Linked DNA regions of Homo sapiens: region 1 is linked to region 2. The links are contacts of gene promoters, found by promoter capture Hi-C in human tissues and cell types (Jung and others, 2019). All regions are on one chromosome and are shown on one strand. Each heading gives the region's core, a stretch centred on a gene start or on the middle of the fragment in contact. The rest is flanking DNA. Distances are from core to core; before and after follow the strand shown. Region 1 holds the start of LOC124905973 (a long non-coding RNA gene). Region 2 holds the start of E2F6 (E2F transcription factor 6).

What was found. Contacts are between HindIII fragments. The study calls those that stand out against the background at their distance.
Region 1: a fragment that was not itself captured here is called in contact with the fragment with the promoter of E2F6 in region 2 in 2 of the 25 tissues and cell types used here (IMR-90 fibroblasts and aorta).

The regions. Positions count from the first base shown.
Region 1 is chr2:10,850,983-10,855,013 of GRCh38, forward strand. LOC124905973 (a long non-coding RNA gene) reads right to left here and starts at 1,448. Exons shown (of 3, transcript XR_007086215.1): 1 at 1,304-1,448. The HindIII fragment of the contact is 7,119 bases long and covers 1-4,031 here.
Region 2 is chr2:11,463,913-11,467,569 of GRCh38, forward strand. E2F6 (E2F transcription factor 6) reads right to left here and starts at 2,249. Exons shown (of 7, transcript NM_198256.4): 1 at 1,860-2,249. The coding sequence starts at 1,967. RefSeq lists enhancers at 1,443-2,000, 2,001-2,557, 2,985-3,064. The HindIII fragment of the contact is 18,503 bases long and covers 1-3,657 here.

The sequences.
Region 1 (4,031 bases), core at 81-2,580, 610 kb before region 2:
TGGCTCACGCCTGTAACCCCAGCACTTTGGGAGGCTGAGGCAGGTGGATCACTTGAGGTCAGGAGTTCAAGACCAGCCTGGCCAACATGGCGAAACCCCATCTCTACTAAAAATACAAATAAATTAGCTGGGTGTGGTGGTGCACACCTGTAGTCCCAGCTACTCAAGAGGCTGAGGCATGAGAATTGCTTGAACCTGGGAGGCGGAGGTTGCAGTAAGCCAAGATCGTGCTACTGCACTCCAGCCTGGGCGATAGAGTGAGGCTCAGTCTCCAAAAAAAAAAAGCAAGCTGTGCCCCTACCATCACCATCTTGGGCACATGTCTTGAGGACCTCCTGAGACTGTGTCAGGGCACAGCCTTAACCTTGGCAAAATAAACTTTCTAAATTGATTGAGATCTGTCTCGGATACTTTTGGGTGCACAGTTACAGCGGCATATAAGCCCTCAGGTCTACCTGTCTCTTTGGATCCTCATTTCTTTTCTGTGAAGGCCTCCATGTGCACATGAAAATGAAAATTACATCAAGTAAAATCTATATGCCTTTCCCCCTGTTAATCTGTCTTTTTTCAGCTTAATTCACAGACCCTCACTATAGAATGTAAGACAGTAGAGGAAAGCATTTTTCCCTCCCTTATAGCAGTAAGGATATTCACATCGTGCAACTATCACCACCTTCCTCTCCAGAACTCTTTCATTATCCCAAACTGAAACTCTATGTCCATTAAACAATAACTCACCACTCCTCCTTCCCTCCAGCCCCTGGCAATCACCGTTGTATCATCTGTCCTTTTGAATCTGACTGCCTTAGGTACCTCATACAAGTGGAATCATTCAGTACTTATTCTTTTGTGACTGGCTCTCTTCACTTAGCATGTTTTCAAGGTTCATTCATGTGGGCGCATGCATCAGGATTTCTTTCTTTTTAAGACTGTGTGATATTGTGATATTATATACATACATACTTGGTTTATGTCCTGGCAGCGAGCTCCTAAAACCCTTGCAATTTCCTGACTGATGGGGTGATAGAAAGATCTTTTGTTAGGATATTTGGTCTTAGTCTTTGGTTCCTGACGTAAGAGCATCTAAGGCCCTTGTATCACCAGATGAGTGTCTTTCTGTAGGCTAATGAGATGATTGGTGGATGGGCGCCCCTAGATACCTTTAGGAGGAGGGCTGGCCTCCAGAAAGACCAAGGTATTACTAGAGGGTTGGAACTTTCAGCTTCAATCCCCAATCTCCAGAGAGGAGAGAGGGACTGGAAATTAATCAGTCACCTAGAACCAACGATTTAATCAGTCATACCTTCATAACGGAACCTCCATGAAAATCCTAAACAATGGGGTTCAGCGAGATTCTGAGTTGGTGAACACATTGAGGTACTGGGAAGGGAATCCACTCAGAGAAGGCGTGGAAGCTTCTCCCCCTTCCCGGATACCATGCTCTGTGCATCTCTTCCATTTAGCTGCTTTTGAGTCATATCCTTTATGAGAAGGTGGTAATAGTAGGTATGTGCCTTCCTGAGTTCTGTGACCTCTTCTAGCAGATTATTGAACCAGAGGAGGGCATTGTGAGGACCACTGATTTACAGCTTGTTGGTCATAAGTACAGGAGGCCCACCCTTGGGATTGGTGTCTGAAGTGGGAGCAGTCTTGTGGGACTGAGCCCATAGCCTGTCTGATGCTAACTCCAGAAAATAGTGTCAGAATTGAATTGAGTCATTGTATATCCAGTTGGTTTCTGGAGAGTTAGAGAATTGGTGGTTGATGTGGAAAAAAACCCATTCATTTGGTGTCATAAGTGTCGGGAATAGAAACAGATCATGGCAATAGGCTGAGTGATTTTTCATTGTGTGTATATAGCACAACTTGCTTATCCATTCATTCACTGATGGACACATAGGTTGTTTCCACCCTTTGGTGAAAACAATATTCCTTATTGTGAATAATGCTGCTATCACATGGGTGTACAAATATCTGTTCAAGTCCCTTCAGTTCTTTTGAGAATATATACCCAGAAGTGGAATTGCTGGGTGAAATGGTAATTTTATGTTCAAGTTTTTGAGGAACTGTCATACTATTTTTCACATGGCTATACCATTTTATATTTCCACCAGTTATGCACAAGGGTTCTAATGTCTCAACATCCTCACCAACACTTGCTATGTTCTGTTGTTGTTGTTGTGGTTGTTTTCTATAATAGCCATTCTAGTGAGTGTGAAATTGTATTTCATTGTGGGTTTGATGTGTGTATCCCTAATGACTAAGGATCTTGAGCATTTTTTCATGTGCTTATTGGCTACCTGTGTATTTTCCTTGGAGAAATGTCTATTCAAATCCTTTGCCCTTTCTCTTTTTTTAAGAAAATATTTTCTCATTCTTGCAAATAATTTTTGCCATTTCTTTCTTTATCTTATGTATATATACTACTATGCTCTTTAAAATTTTTGTCCTCCTCTTCCAATATTTCTGCTTCAGACACGAAATGATGCTTACCTAGCTGGCTTTGTTTCATGGTAGTTGTCCTCAGGAATCTGGTTACATTGGCCTATGAGCTCAGAACCCCATGAGAATGGGGTTTTGGTTACTCCCTCTGGAAATGTGTTCTTGGGAAGGGTCAAAGGCCATGCCCATGTCCATCCCTGCGTTTAATGGAAGGAGAGAAATGGACCCTAGGTTGAAGACCTCCAGATCTCAGATTCACTGGATTTTTGTCTCTTCACCTGGCAACTGCATTCTTCAGAGTTGTACCACCAACCCCCCAGGGAAAAGCAGTCTTGGGCAGAGCCGGTCTCCTCAGATCCCAGGGCTGTGGGTGTCTGTGGGTGAGTGACTGGGGTTGAATGCTCTGTCCTCACCTGTTTTTATCAAATCCTCACCCTGGCAGGAATCATGGATTGCCGTGACATTATTTCAGACACCAGGAGCAGCTGCCTGTCCTGAAGGGCCAGGCAATGGCTGCACCAAGCCTTGCAGAACGGGGACCAGAGTGGAACTTAGAAATGCCTTCTTGCCTACCTTTTTTTTTTTTTTTTTTTTTGAGATGGACTTTCACTCTTGTTGCCCATGTTGGAGTGCAATGGCATGATCTCGGCTCACCACAACCTCTGCCTCCCGGGTTCAAGTGATTCTCTGGACTCAGTATCCCGAGTAGCTGGGATTACAGGCATGCGCCATCACGCTGGCTAATTTTGTATTTTTAGTAGAGACGGGTTTTTTCCATGTTGGTCAGGCTGGTCTTGAACTCCTGACCTCAGGTGATCTGCCTGCCTCGGCCTCCCAAAGTGCTGGGATTACAGGCGTGAGCCACTGTGTCCGGCCTCGCCTACCCTCTTATTGCCCCCTCTGGCTGTCTTCCAGGCTGTAGCTCCCTATGCCACCACCTCGATGCCAGTCCCACTCCAACCAGTAAGAACCAGAGCATCTACCCCACACTGGGCATGGACACTGAAAGCCAAAACACCCTACTGTGTGTATGAACCTCACTTGATGTTATTCCTGTCTTCATCAGCACGACTTTATTTTCCCAGGAGTCACCATCAAGCCCAGGCAGATGGCTTGATAGTTCTTATAGGAACTTCTGGAAAGACTCATCTACTCTCTGATGGAAAACATCAACAGGTAGTCTTTGAATTCTTTGCCTCAAAATCCTCACCTTCCTCTGTCTACCATGTCCAGACTGACTGTTGCATCATGGCTGTTACCCAGTGCTGATCAGATTTCCTCATTTGAAACGCCCCCCCCTTAAATCAAACTTCCAGTTCTCAATAAATTGTGGCCGTGCCTTCTCCTTCCCGTCTGAAACACACCAAACTTCGGGAGGTGGCCTCCCTTTCCATAAGGGGACACACCCAGACACACACCTGCTCTGTTTTCTCAACAGGTGCTGGTGATGCTGGTGGCAGCTGTTGACACCAGGCACCACTTCTGATAGCTGTCGGCTGTCCAGATTTCAAAAATCTCATTGTTCTTGTCATTTGTTCCTCTGGTCTGTTTCTCTTGCTCTGTAATTTCTCCAGGTGGATTCTAGGGAA
Region 2 (3,657 bases), core at 999-3,498:
CACTCCAGCCAGGGTGACAGAGTGAGATCCTGCACCGGGGGGGGGGACAAAAACAAAAACAGAAAAACAAATCAACATGAAGGAATGGGAAGAGGATGAGGACAAGGAGAAGCCAGAGAAGCAGATGGAGCATCAAACGTCAAGGAAGCTCAAGGGAGGGTTTCTAACACGAGTGTTGTAGTCAAAACTACAACAGCTGCTGGAATTGACGAGCTTGTCGGTGACCTTGGTTAGAATGGTCTTACAAGTGTGCTTAGGATAGGGGTCCCCAGCAGTGGGTTGGCTGGTAATAAGAGGCCATCAAGTGGAAACAGTGAGTGTAAATAACCTTTTCAAGAAGTTTAGCTGTGAAAGCACTTTGGGAGGCTGAGGCGGGTGGATCACGAGGTCAGGAGATTGAGACCATCCTGGCTTACACGGTGAAACCCCATCTCTACTAAAAATACAAAAAAAAATTAGCCGTGCGTGGTGGCGGGTGCCTGTAGTCCCAGCTACTCAGGAGGCTGAGGCAGGAAAATGGCGTGAACTCGGGAGGCGGAGCTTGCAGTGAACCGAGATCAGGCCACTGCACTCCAGCCTGGGTGACAGAGCAAGACTTCGTCACCAAAAAAAAAAAAAAAAAAAAAAAGTTTAGCTGTGAAGAGGAAGAGAGACAGTAGATGGGAGGGGATATGGAATCAAGGGAGAGATCTTTTAAGATGGGGATGGATTTAGAATGCGGTTTTAGTAGTCAAGAATTTATCATCTGGAGTTAGACATTTGGAGCTTCAACCCAAGTTTCTACACTTATTATCCAGCCACAGGCAAGCCGGCGTTACATGCATCTCCAAGTCTGTTTTGGCAACCGTGAAACAAGAATAATAATCTTTTAGTATTATAAAACACTGCTGTGAGAAATGAGAAATTAAATGAGGCAATAATCACAAACTATTTGGTAGGGGAACCAGGCATAATGACTTGGGAAAATGTTTAATTACTACTAGTTATAGAAAGAAAGCAGCAGAGAAATTGAAAATACGGGGAGAGGTCGGGCTCGGTGGATCACCTGAGGTCGTCAGGAGTTCGAGACCAGCCTGGCCAACACGGCGAAATCCCGTCTCTACTAAAAATACAAAATTAGCTGGGTGTGGTGGCGCATGCCTGTGATCCCAGCTACATGGGAGGCTGAAGCAGGAGAATCTCTTGAACCTGGGAGGTGGGGGTTGCAGTGAGCTGAGATTGCGCCATTGCACTCCAGCCTGGGGAACAAAAGTAAAACTCAATCTCAAAAAAAAAAAAAAAAAAGAAAAAAAAGAAAGAAAAGAAAAAGAAAATGCATTTGTTGAGGGCCCTGATAACCGCGGGGAATACAGCATCTGGTCCTGAACAAGAGAAGAAATCAGCCTTTGCAGGAAAGGGAGCCAAATTTCCTAACCATTTTCTCTGTCAAACAGGTGGGGAGATAATTTGATGAATGGGAGCTGTGGCGTGGGAAATATAAAGCGTGGACAAGGTTTTAAACGGCTGCAGTAGAGCAGAAGGATGGGAGAGGAGGCAGAAAAACAAATGATAGGTTGCAGAGATACAGCTAGAGTCCATAGAAGGAGATAAACATGGACTCTCTAATGCAAAGTTGAGCAATTTTCTCCAACAGTGCTCTGAAGTTCCGATGTAAAAGCCTAGAAGACTGATACCACGTCTGTGAGCAGATGCTGAAAGCAGAAGGCGGGAGAGCGCAGTTCGCAGCACGTGATGGGCAGCGCCTGGCCCAGGGGGAGCAGACGACCCAGACGACGGCCAGCGGGGTTGGCGGCGGCGCGGGGAGGAGGGGGCCGGATTTGGGAGACCACCGCCCGTCCCCGTCCCGTCCCGGAGCTTACCAGCAGGCCCTCCACGTTGATGGGGTCTCGGCACCGACGGCGAACCGTCTCCTCCGTCGGGTCCAGGAGGAGACTGGGTAACTTCCTCGCCGGCCGCTGCTGACTCATGCTGCCCGGCCGGGCGTCCTGCTCCCCTCGCACCCCACGAGCTCTCCCGCCCTCTCGCGCTCAGCTCGAGCACCGCCCCCCACGCGCCGATTTCCAAGGGCCCAGCACCTAAGGGGTCCGCGGCTTCCTCCGAGGCGCCGCCCGGCTAGGCCGTCCCGCCCGCCAGTAAACGCGGCACGGCCTCACGTGCCCGGGAGCTCCCGACGCAGACGGAAAAAGAGGAGGGAGACCCGCGGATCTCAAGTCGCCCGGCCCGCCATCTTCCCGCATGCGCAGTACACCGCCCCCCTCTGCGCATGCCCGCCGCTGCCGGAGCGCTCCCACGCACCGATCCTCTCCCGGCGGCTGCCGCCCGGGAAACCCGGACCGCGGAATCCACGGAGAGGCTGGCAAAGGAAAAGGAAGAGGTGGAGCCGAATTCCAGAGGAAGGGAACAGGGGTGAGAGAAAAGAGGCAACCGGGAAAACCCAGCGGTCGCCTGGAATTCTCGACGGTGATAACTGAAAGTTCTGAGGTGATAACTGAAAGTTCTGAGCCGCAGAGATGTTCATTTATTCCTTTTTTTTATTTTAATTTTTTTTTTGGTCGCCCAGGCTGGAGTGCAGTGGCGTGGTCAGGGCTCACTGCAGCCTTGAATTCCCGGGCTCAAGCGATCCTCCACCTCAGCCTCCCAAGTAGCTGGGACTACATGCGCGCGCCACTGTGCCTGGCTAATTTTTAATTTTAATTTTAGTAGAGACAGGGTCTCAGTATATTGCCCCGGCTGGTCCTGAACTCTGGGGCTCAAGCCGTCCTCCCACCTTGGCCTCTCAAGTGCTGGGATTATAGGCGTGAGCTACCACACCCAGCCTTCATTTATTCGTGAGCTCTGTTAGCGCATCTTACAGGCAGGTCAGTGTTGATGCTTAGTAAATGTGAGCAACCACACCATTGTGGAATCGTTTTACCTCTGCCTGCCCGCCTGCCTGCCTGCCTGCCTTCCTTCCTTCCTTCCTTCCTTCCTTCCTTCCTCCTTCCTGTTTGACGAATGAGTTATCGTTGACCTATAGTGTCAGATATTGGGGTGGGCACAGGCGATACTTATTCGTTTGAATATGCCACGGGTTCAACCTCCAATTTCAGTGGGGACAGATAAGTAAACAGAGCATGTTAATTTAGCTGGAGCCAGAAGGTGTGTTTTCAAGTCCTGGCTGCCTCTACGTATAAACTAGAAGACCTTATTAAGCCAGTTACTTAATCTGTCTGTGCCTCAGTTTCCTTATTTGGAAAATGCAAATAATGACAATACTTACCTGATAAGGTTGTTGTGAGGATTAAATGGATTAATGGATACAGGTTGCTGTGATTAGAACAGAGGCCAGCACATGTTTGAAATAAAAAGGCAACACACCGTGGTATGTACAGAGTTGGAGGGAAACAACTGGTTAGACTGGGGGTTTCTACACAGCCTGAGGTGGGCGAGGTGAGGCAGGGAAAAATCCCCGAAGAAGCTGGTTCCCCACTAGACTGTGAGGTCAGAGGCCTTCTCTAATCTTTTTTTTTTTTTTTCTGTCACCCAGGCTGGAGGGCAGTGTCACGGTCATAATTCACTGTAGCGTCAAACTCCTGGCCTCAAGTGATCTCCCAGCTAAGACTCCCAAGTAGCTGAGAGTACAGGTGCATGCCACCATGCCTGGCTAATTTTTTTTTA